Regions from separate parts of the Homo sapiens genome. Here region 2 is linked to region 1. Evidence: promoter capture Hi-C in 16 types of primary human blood cells and fetal thymus (Javierre and others, 2016). All regions are on one chromosome and are shown on one strand. The core of a region is centred on a gene start or on the middle of the fragment in contact, and the rest is flanking DNA. Distances in the headings are between cores, read along the strand shown.

Evidence for each region. The method cuts DNA at HindIII sites, captures the fragments that hold promoters and counts their contacts. A CHiCAGO score of 5 or more calls a contact.
Region 2: a contact is called between a fragment that was not itself captured here and the fragment with the promoter of SMPDL3A in region 1, in 1 of 17 cell types (monocytes). The highest score is 7.7, in monocytes.

Annotation. Positions count from the first base shown.
Region 1 is chr6:122,786,445-122,791,490 of GRCh38, reverse strand. SMPDL3A (sphingomyelin phosphodiesterase acid like 3A) reads right to left here and starts at 2,233. Exons shown (of 8, transcript NM_006714.5): 1 at 2,033-2,233. The coding sequence starts at 2,144. RefSeq lists a cis regulatory region at 233, enhancers at 149-318, 1,422-1,921, 1,922-2,423 and silencers at 513-807, 1,913-2,207. The HindIII fragment of the contact is 3,428 bases long and covers 248-3,675 here.
Region 2 is chr6:122,602,539-122,607,584 of GRCh38, reverse strand. It overlaps a transcript of PKIB not described here. Among named protein-coding and RNA genes, the nearest start is that of PKIB, 5.3 kb to the left of the region's middle. The HindIII fragment of the contact is 1,308 bases long and covers 2,461-3,768 here.

The DNA of each region.
Region 1 (5,046 bases), core at 984-3,483:
GAATGGTTGAAGTATGGCTGCTGGGATTGGCCAAACTTAGCTATTGTTACCAGTGCATACTCTTAAGTTAGGTTTTCAGTCTCATCTGACTATTAAGCTAGGTTACAGTTCATTCACAAGGATTCAAATATAGAAGTAAGGAGTCCTTCTCAGGCCGTATTTAGTTTGCTTTAACAGTACCAATACACAAGCCAGTCCCAGCCTACTCAATCTAAAGAACTGTAGCCAAAAACACACAGGTGAAGCTTCCTAGAACTTCTGTCGTCCGACCACCAGGACTTGACAGGGCAGAAAACTAAGACTGGGAATTTAAACGCAAAAACACAAAACAAGAAAGCAGTAGCCAGGCAGGGTGGATGCTGAAAGGAAGTCCAAGCATGTGGGGCTGAGAGGAGGCAGGAGAGTTGTCACATCAAGTGGAAAATACGCAAAATATTACAAACAAGGAGAATTGTGAAACTGCTGAGTGAACACTTCAGACCTTTGAACTCCAGTAACACTTCAGACTTTCGAACTCCAGTGACTCCAGTAACACTTCAGACCACTGAACTCCAGTAACCCCTCTTCCTTCCCCTTTAGTAGGAGGGGATTCAACCTTGCAGTTTCCCAAACAGGAGGTGTGAAGACTCACAGAGTCCCCAGAAAGCGCTCATTCAGGCCTCTTTAAAACACAGGTGAATTTGCCATTGTGTGGCCTCAAGCAACGTGAGACATTTTATTTCAAAACCCTAACCGGTCACATAATTAAAGGAACACAAGCTAAGCCGTAATAAAAGCAGAAACCAGTATACATAAACATTTTGGGGAAATTTCTTGTAATGACTGACATTTGCCACAGTTCGGAAACCAGATTTACAGTTTTTGCTTCAGACCTGACAGCTGAGTCGTGAGGACTTGGCCTTCAAAGAGAAGATATTTGCCCTAGAGCGCTCCCAAGTCCTGAGAAAGCACAGAGGGAGCGAAAGAGGTTTCAGCACTAGGTGCTGCTACCGAGTCTCAGGGACAACTCTCCCCTAAAAGAAAACAGAACCCCACTTCTCTAATTTTGTTTTTCCTCTTAACAGTGCAATTATTTTTAAAGGGAGTTGAGGAGGTGAGGGCACCTTGATTTTTGGAACTGGAGGCTCGGATGGCATTGTACAATCTCCCACCAAAATGTATCTATTCTGGACCAGTGAGTCTCAAACTTAGCCGAAAGGAATCATGCGGAGGGTGGGTTAAACAGCATACTGTGGAAGCCCAACGCCGGCGTTTCAGATTCAGTAGGTCTGGGATGGGCTGGAAATTTGCAATGCTAACAATTTTAAGTGCGGCGGCTGCTGCCACCGGTCCAGGGCACACTTAAGAGAATCACTACTGTAACGGGCACTGTGTTAAGTGCTGGGAGTGAATAAAATGGGTCCCGCCCGCAGGAAACCTAGTGGACATCCAGGTGAAATGAAGTCCCCGTGAGTTCCACGGTAGACTAAGGGGTGAGTCTACCCGAGGGTGCTTTCGCGCTCTGGCTGGGTGAGTGGCAGAAAAAGCCACTGATCTCGGTCGAGCAAGACAGAAGATAGTGTGAGTCACGCTGAAATTTACTTCCCTGAGCTGGTGGGGAAACTGCAGTCCCCCTCCATTCAGGACCGATTAGGGGCCTCTTGCTGTGCTGGACATCGGACTCCCAGCTTCCTCTTCCCTTGAGTCCCGCAGCTTTTCCTTCCTTCCCCAAGGAACAAAACAACTGAGATGCAGGATGTAAACAAAAGCCAGGCTGGCGAAATCCGGCCGACGCGCCCTTGGAGCGCCCCCACCGGCGAGGGCATTTCCCCCGCCCAGCCCCGGCCTCCCGGCTGGACGCCCTAACGCTGTAGTCCCTTGGTCGCCCTCCCCGCGCCCACCAGCCGTGGTCAACGCCGGACGCGTCAGGGGCCCCGCTAGCCCGAGCCTCTGCCGGGGGCAGCTGCCCCCACGCACTTTCTCCTGCTGTGCGCAGGCGCCGCCGCTCCGCGCTCTTTGCCGGCTGGGAAGAGAAGGGTCGCGGACAACTCACCTATCGCCGGAGGAGGATTCCTGCCGCCTGCGGGCGCCACGGGCAGCCCGAGGCCGGAGCGGCAGTGCCAGGCAGTCAGCAGGCAGCAGACGAGTGCGCGCACCAGCGCCATGGAGGGCCGCGGGGCTGACCTGGAGGTTCGGGCTGTCCCGCAGCTCCACTCGGACCGTCAGGCCTGAGGGTGAGGCGGAGACAGAAGACGGCTGCGGGTGTAGACGTCCGACTGATCACGTGCAAAGGCAGATTCCGCAGCGAGTCAGTTCGCCTGACCTTCAGCTGCTGTTTAGCGATGATCTGTTCTCGTATTTCTTAGCGTCAGTGTTTGGCCTAGGAAGGAATGTACTTGTAGAAGCTCAAATTCCGACTCGTGTATCAGTGGTGCAGTTGATGTCAAACACTGACATACTGGTGCTTGGGGATAGAGAAAGACATTCAATTTAGTAAAAGCCAGAAGGAGGGAGAACAAGATCTCTCAAATCCGTGTGTAAAAAGGAAAAAGCAGGGAGTTTTTATTCTGCTAGAGAATAAGAGAGGGGGATTTTCAAAGAATCCAGGGGAAAAGTCTGTTTCTTCAGTCTCAGATAACACCTTTGAGCAATTAGACGTCCAGGCATCCGCAGCTGGTTGCAAAGCCCTTGGAGGTATTCATCCCTTCTGCAAACATTTTTGTGACCCTGAAGTTAACCTCTTTGTTCTTGACGAGGAAGCAGTACCTCAGCAGTTTATAATTATATTGTGGAAACAAGGAGAATATTGGGCAAAAAGCGAGTGGTTAAAATGTGCAAGCAAGCAGGAGCCTGATCAGAATTTTCATTATTTCAGTCACTAAAAAATGCTGGGGTGCTGAAATCTCAACGATCCCGGTTCCATTCTTGGGCCAACCTACCCCAGCTTTAATGGGTAGGGCTCCTCAGTAGAGGTGATGCAGAGAGCCCTGAAGTATCATGATTTGAAGGAAATCAGCAAAAGTTATGGATACTGCAGTGGATCTCGAATTGAAGTCTCTGAACTGGGAACATTAGCACCACCTGGGAACTCTAGTTAGAAATGCAAATTCCCAGGCACCACCCTAGACCTGTTGAGTCAGAAACCTGCTGGAGCCCAGCAGTTTGTGTTTTCACAAGCATTTCAGGTCATGTTAAAGTGATTGTGATGTTTGAAAACCAATGCTCAAAGATACGACGTTTTGTTTTTTGTTTTTTTTAAACTGCCGGGAAGAGAAGGGTCTTAGAATTAGAACATGTTCTGAAATCATGCTTTATGCATTCCAGAGATGCATGGAAATCATAAGTAGAGGTGGTTGATTTGATGCTTCCACGGAACTTTTTTGAATATACTTCTGGCAAAGAAGTAAGTCTATACAAAGAAGTAAGCAAAGATAAGTCTGGCAAAGAAGTAAGTCTATACAAAGAAGTAAGCAAAGATAAGTCTGGCAAAGAAGCCAGAATCCCGAAACTGTGCTGGATCCTGTATTCTGTGTTCCTTCTCTCACCGTTTATGAGGATGCTGATCTCTTGGAGATGACAAGCTAATAATTTAAATTTATAGGGCGTGGAATTCCTTTGCAGAAGAAAATGCTTTCCATAATTACTAACCTCAAAAAAGATGTTGTAGAGTGTATTTCTTTCCCAGCATAGAAAGCTTTGTTTTGTATCCCATGTAATTTAATGGGAGTGTGTGTCATGAAACGGGCTTTGAAGTGGGAAGCAAGGTGCTTCCATTTTCTGTTTTGTAAACCAAAAATAAAATTTGAAGGCCCCCCACAACCATCTGAATGGACGACCATCTGTATGGACTCTTTCCCCAGTCAGGGCACTCTAAAATTTAACCTGAAAGACTGGTTCAGGCCATGAAAAAGGGGATGGGGGGGTTGGACATGCGTAATTAACATCAACATAGACCATAAGTCTGATAAGAAACATTTAAGATCTGTTTTCTCTAAAGCCTGCTACGTGGAGGCTTCGTCTGTGTGACAAAATCTGGGTCTAACAACCCCTTATCATAACCCAGACATCCTTTCTATTGATAATAACTTTTTCAATCAACCAATTGCCAATCAGGACATGTTTAAATCTTCCTGTGATCTGGAAACACCCACCCCCCGCCCAGCTTCAAGTTGTCCTGCCCGTCTAGATCGAACCAATGTAAAAATCTTACATGTATTGATTGCTGTATCATGTCTCCCTAAAATGTATAAAAGCAAGCTGTATCCTGACCACCTTGGGCACATGTCAAGACCTCCTGAGGCTGTGTCACTGGCCCATCCTTAACCTTGGCAAAATAAACTTCCTAAATTGATTGAGACCTGTCTCAGGTACTTTTGTGTTACAGTTTCAAGTCCTGCCAGGGCAGCCGAAGTCCTGCTTCAGCTTTTGGATGATTCAAAAGCTTGCAAGAACCAAAGTGCATTCCAGTGGAGGACAAGATGGTCCCTGGAGTTTCTCAGTTCACAACCTCTAGAATATGGGAGAAAATGGAGCCAGAAAAAACTGGTGAGCTGGTGAGAGAAAACGACTGTAAGGATTAACAAAACAACTTAGGAGTTTTTAGTCCAAACATTTAAAGCTAGGAAAAGGATAAATTATAAAAATAGCTCTTTTCACTCCTTTTTTTTTTTTTTCCAATTTCAATATACTTTACTGGAAGTAACTGGTTGCAAAATAGTTTTTCAGTAAGCATAAAACAAGGCATACACATTTTGAAACTTAAGAAATGTTTGAAATCCTAAAAAGTACAGTATATTAAAATTAGTGGGTAGAAACACCATCCTTCTTTCTACTCACTCCACTTTCTTTTTTTTTTTCTTAATACTCACTAAGAAGCAAAAAACTACAGTGCCCCAACATCTCTACAGGCATATCTCAACCATGGGCATATATTTGTAGGTCTCCATGTGCCAGGTGTACAAATATGTCATCGTGAGTGTGTATATCTGGGTGAGGGAAATCACATGAAAGAAGAGCAGAAGCTTCACAAAACAGCCTTAGCTTAGTTTGTATCATTGAGACCTTCGT
Region 2 (5,046 bases), core at 1,865-4,364, 180 kb after region 1:
GGTAGGGCTGGCTTCGTGGGTCTATGACCTGTTCAGTTGAGCAGGGATCTACGTGTTGTTTGTTTTTGAGACAGAGTCTGACTCTCTCACCCAGGCTGGAGTGCAGTGGCCCAATCTCGGCTCACTCCAGACTTGGCCCCCCAGGCTCAAGCAATCTTCCCACCTTAGCCTCCAGAGTAGCTGAGACTACGGGCACACATCACCACACCTGGCTAACTTTTGTGGGTTTTTTTGTTTTGTTTTTTTGTTTTGTTTTGTTTTGTTTTGTTTTTTTGTAGAGACGGGGTTTTGCTATGTTGGCCAGGCTGGCCTCGAACTCCTGGGCTCAAGCGATCCACCCGTCTTGGCCTTCCACAGTGTTTGGATTTCAGGCATAAGCCACATGCCTTGCTCAGGATCTACTTTTAAGAAGGCCCTGTGCAATGTTTAATGCTCCCCTGTCCCTGCATTGAAATATTTTATTTTATTTTATTTTATTTATTTATTTATTATTATTATTTTTTTTTTTACCAAGGGGACTTGCATTTTCATCTTTCATTGAGCCCAGCAAATTATATAACCAATGCTGTGTGGAAGAAAGTAGAAATTCTTGCATGGGTGAAGCAAGAATCAGTATTTACCTTCTAGGGATTAAAGTTTGGGAAAGACTAAATGCAGAAGTTTGTATTTTGAGGGAAGACCAAGAGATGCAGGGAGAAGGATGTGGCTGCAAGGTTTCAAGTGAGATCTAGTTTTCACATCTCTTTAGGGCCAGGCTGGCTGACACCTGGGCAGAAGAAGTGGACAGTAGTTACCATCATCATACTCCATGTTTTTATATGCTGGTGGGTTAGTTTTTTTAGGGTTGCCATTAAAAATTACCACAAATTTGGTGACCTACACCAGAAGGAATTTATTCTCTCACAATTCTGGAAGCCAGAAGTCTGAAGTCAAAGTGTTGGCAGGGTATCACTTCCTGTAAAGACTCAGGGGAGAACCCTCTTTTGTCTCTTCTAGCTTTTTTTTTCTTTTTTGAGACAGAGTCTCACTCTGTCACCCAGGCTGGAGTGCAATGGCGCGATCTCTGCTCACTGCAACCTCTGCCTCCTGGGTTCGAGCGATTCTCCTGCCTCAGCCTCCCAAGTAGCACGGATTACAGGCACATGCCACCACACCCTGCTAATTTTTGCATTTTTGCAGAGACGGGGTTTCACCATGTTAGCCAGGCTCGTCTTGGACTCCTGACCTCAGGTGATCCGCCTGCCTCAGCCTCCCAAAGTGCTGGGATTACAGGCGTGGGCCACCATGCCCAGCCCTCTTCTAGCTTTTAATGGCCACAGGCAATCCTTGATTGTCTTTAGCTTATAGCTACATAACTCCAATCTCTGCATCCATTTTCACATCTTCCCTATGTTTCTTCTCTACTGTTGGCATTGGTATTCCCCTCTTCTTATAAGGACATTTGTCATTGGATTTTGCATCCACCCAGTTCATCCAGGATGATCTCCCCTGGAGATCCTTACTTTAATTGCATCTTCGAAGATCCTTTTTCCAAGTAAAGTCAAATTCACAGGTACCAGAGGTTAGGTCATGGACATATCTTTTTAGAGACCACCATTCAGTCCACTGTAGCCAAGTCTATGGAGGCCAGAGGAATAGCAAGGCTGGATGACACTGGCATGATAGCTCTTCAGGTCTATTTGGCAAAGATAACTACAATAATATGAACCTTATCAATGTTTCTAAAGCTTTCAAACTGTGATATTTAATACATATGAAAATCAGAAGATTAGAGCTGCCCAGAGTCTTTACACCCCTGAGAGTAGCTATCTGCCTTGGGGACAAAAACCACTGAGAAGTCATGTACCTGGGACAGTGAGAAGTGTGGTTACAAAGAACTGAGGAAGTTGGCTTCCCTCTTGGAGGGGAGGGGAGGATTCGCCCACTCTCCATTCCAGAGGACATATGTGGTTCCTTGGTATTAAGGGAGAGTCTACAGGATGACCATATCTCACCCTTTCCTAAAAATATAAGATTCAGAAGGGCTTATATATGAAATATAAGATTCACCTGTGGGAGAGGCTGGGCTAGTTTCTCAAGCCGTACCTTGTAAAGGAAAATTTTTTAAATCCTTAGAGAGGGAAGAAGGAAATGTCGAAATCAGTGCTAACTTTTCCTCCAGCTGACAGACACTCTGAGGAATATTCAAGTAGCTGCCAGAGACAAATGGAACTCTCTTTAAAAAGCATAACACTCTCTGGCTTTTTCTTCTTTCTGCTCCAGGACAGGAACCATAAATTCCATCAAAGACCAGAAACTATAAGTTCCACCAAAGCTTCCATCCATTATTTGCAGAGTGATGATGTGAGAGAATTCCAAATTGTGGCAGGGGCAGCAGCATAACTAAGCCGAGGTTTGGAACAGATTACAGGAGCATCCATCTTTGAAAGGCCACTAAGTATGTTGTCCTGCAACCAAGCTTGGGTGACAGAGTGGCCTAGGGCACAAGGGGCACAGACTGTGCTACTAGTTAGTGACCCTGCTCCTTTTGTATAGCAGAAAGGGTGCTACAGACCCACATTCACCAAGGGAGAAGCTGGACAATGAAACAGTTGGGGACACAACTGTCCTTTAGAAGATCAGAGTCTATAAAGTAAGAAGCAGAAGGATGGGAAAGAGACTGATTTCTTTTCAGTATTTAAAATAGAAATTTCCTAACAAAGTATTCCTTCATTACCATTGTAGTCATGTGTCTCTCCCCACTCCTGATCAATAGGGCATTGTTTTGCAGAGTAGCAGGGCATATGAAAAGAACACAGAAAACAGAAAATGTTGGGTTCTGATCCCAACTGGCAATGCCACTCAAGGCTGTGTAATCTGAGTAAAATTAGTTTTCTTATGACTGAAGGGAAGATGAAGAACTAAGGGATTATCCTGCTCTAAATTTCTTTAAGTCTCTGAATTGGCCTCCTTATTAAATCGAAATTAAGCCCAACATTTAGAACACTTTACCCATCCACCTCCAACTAACTAATTCTTATCACTTCCCAGCACAAATCCTGCTTTCCAAATAAACTCATCAACTTGACACTCCATGTGACCTCTTTTTTTCTAATTTTCATAATTGGTGCAAGGGGATGTATTTATTTTCATTACCTTCTGTTCTTAAGCAGTGTCACTTAATTTCTTCAAATTCCTGTGCACAAATCTTCTACTTTGGGAAACTTATTGAGGAATTTTTCTCCATTTCTGATCAATTCATTCAAATGTGCCAAGTTGCCATCCAATCTTACAGACTTTCCTCCATGTGTTTGGGGAGTATGGCAATTTTAAAAGAAAAATATTATTCTCTTAAGTTTTTGACATGCCCTTAAAACTTTTCATGTGTATTGTCTAACTCTACTATCACTGTCAGCATGAGATTCTTCTATTCCAAAATTGGTATTTTCTAACTTCTTCAAGTAAATGAGACAACTCTGAATGTTTCAGGACCAGTACATGAATTGCTAACCCTAACCAACTAACCATTTAATGGTGCAGCATCTGTGTTTGGCACAGAGTTGGTATCTAATAAATATTTTTGTATAAATATGTAAGTAAGCTAATGTGCACCTTTTTATTTGACCATAAGTACACACACACACTAACCATTCTCCCACCTCTCTTCTCCATTCAACAGGATGACCTTAACACATAACAAAACACCAAAAATAATTAAAGAAATCACAACTTACCAAAGATATTTTCGTGACTAATAAGTATGTGGTAAGTTATTTGCCCAAATAAGCTTTATTTGTACTAATACCTGTAAAAAATGTAGTTGAAAGCCAGGAGTGGTCGTTCATGCCTGTAATCCCAGCACTTTGGGAGGCCAAGGTGGGCGGAACACTTGAGGCCACGAGTTCAAGACCTGCCTGGCCAACGTGGCAAAACCCCATCTCTACTAAAAATCCATAAATTAGCCGGGCGTGGTAGCACATACCTATAATTGCAGCTACTCCAGAGAGTCTGAGGCAGGAGAATCGCTTGAACTCAGGAGGTGGAGGTTGCAGTGAGTTGAGATAGCACCACTGTACTCTAGCCTAAGCAACAGAGTGAGACTCTGTCTCAAAAAAAAAGAAAAAAAGAAATGTCTTTCAAATTTTTTCAATATACTTTTATGTGAATTTCTTCTGTGCACGGATACATAAAATCTAAGATTGGGTTAGATCTAAGATTAGATGCTCATAATTAAAAAATGAATTCACAACTTCTAACATGGGAAATCCTGATGTCTCTCATGCCTTATCTTATTAAATTGGAAAATATACATTTTATCAGAACTCCAGTAAGTAGCACCTTTATGACATTTATGTTATTCGTATTAGATATTATTTATTATGATCCCAAATTACTCAATAACTATAGATAAATATAATGAATGTTAAGTTGTCTTATAAAATGAATTAGGTCTTTTTAATTTAGATAAACTCTAATTTAACCATAGCTCCTGTATCACTGTTCAGAGTTGGGGTGGATGGAGTCTTTTAAAAAAGAGAAGCTTTTGAGATGTTCCTGGGGAATTGGACTTAAAAGTTAGCCTCTTTTAAAAATTTGCTTAGGAACCTAAAATGTAAACGTACTCCTATTTTTTTTTTTTTTTTTTTTTTTGAGACGCAGTCTTGCCCTGTCACCCAGGCTGGAGTGCCGTGGTGCGATCTCGGCTCGCTGCAACTTCTGCCTCCTGGGTTCAAGCAATTCTCCTGTCTCAGCCTCTCAGGTAGCTGGGACTACAGGTGTGCACCACCACACCCGGCTAATTTTTTTGTTTTTTTTGTTTGTTCATTTGTTTTTTGCTTGTTTTTTGTATTTTTAGGGGAGACGGCATTTTGCCACATTGGCCAGGCTGGTCTCGAACTCCTGGCCTCAAACAATCCGCCTGCCTCGGCCTCTCAAAGTGCTGAGATTACAAGCGTGTGCCACCACGCCTGGCCAACTTACCCTATTGATACAGGATTTTTTGTTAGTTTGTTTTTTGTCTTTTTTTGTAAGGAATTACCCTTATACTCTACTGGAATTAGAAAAGCT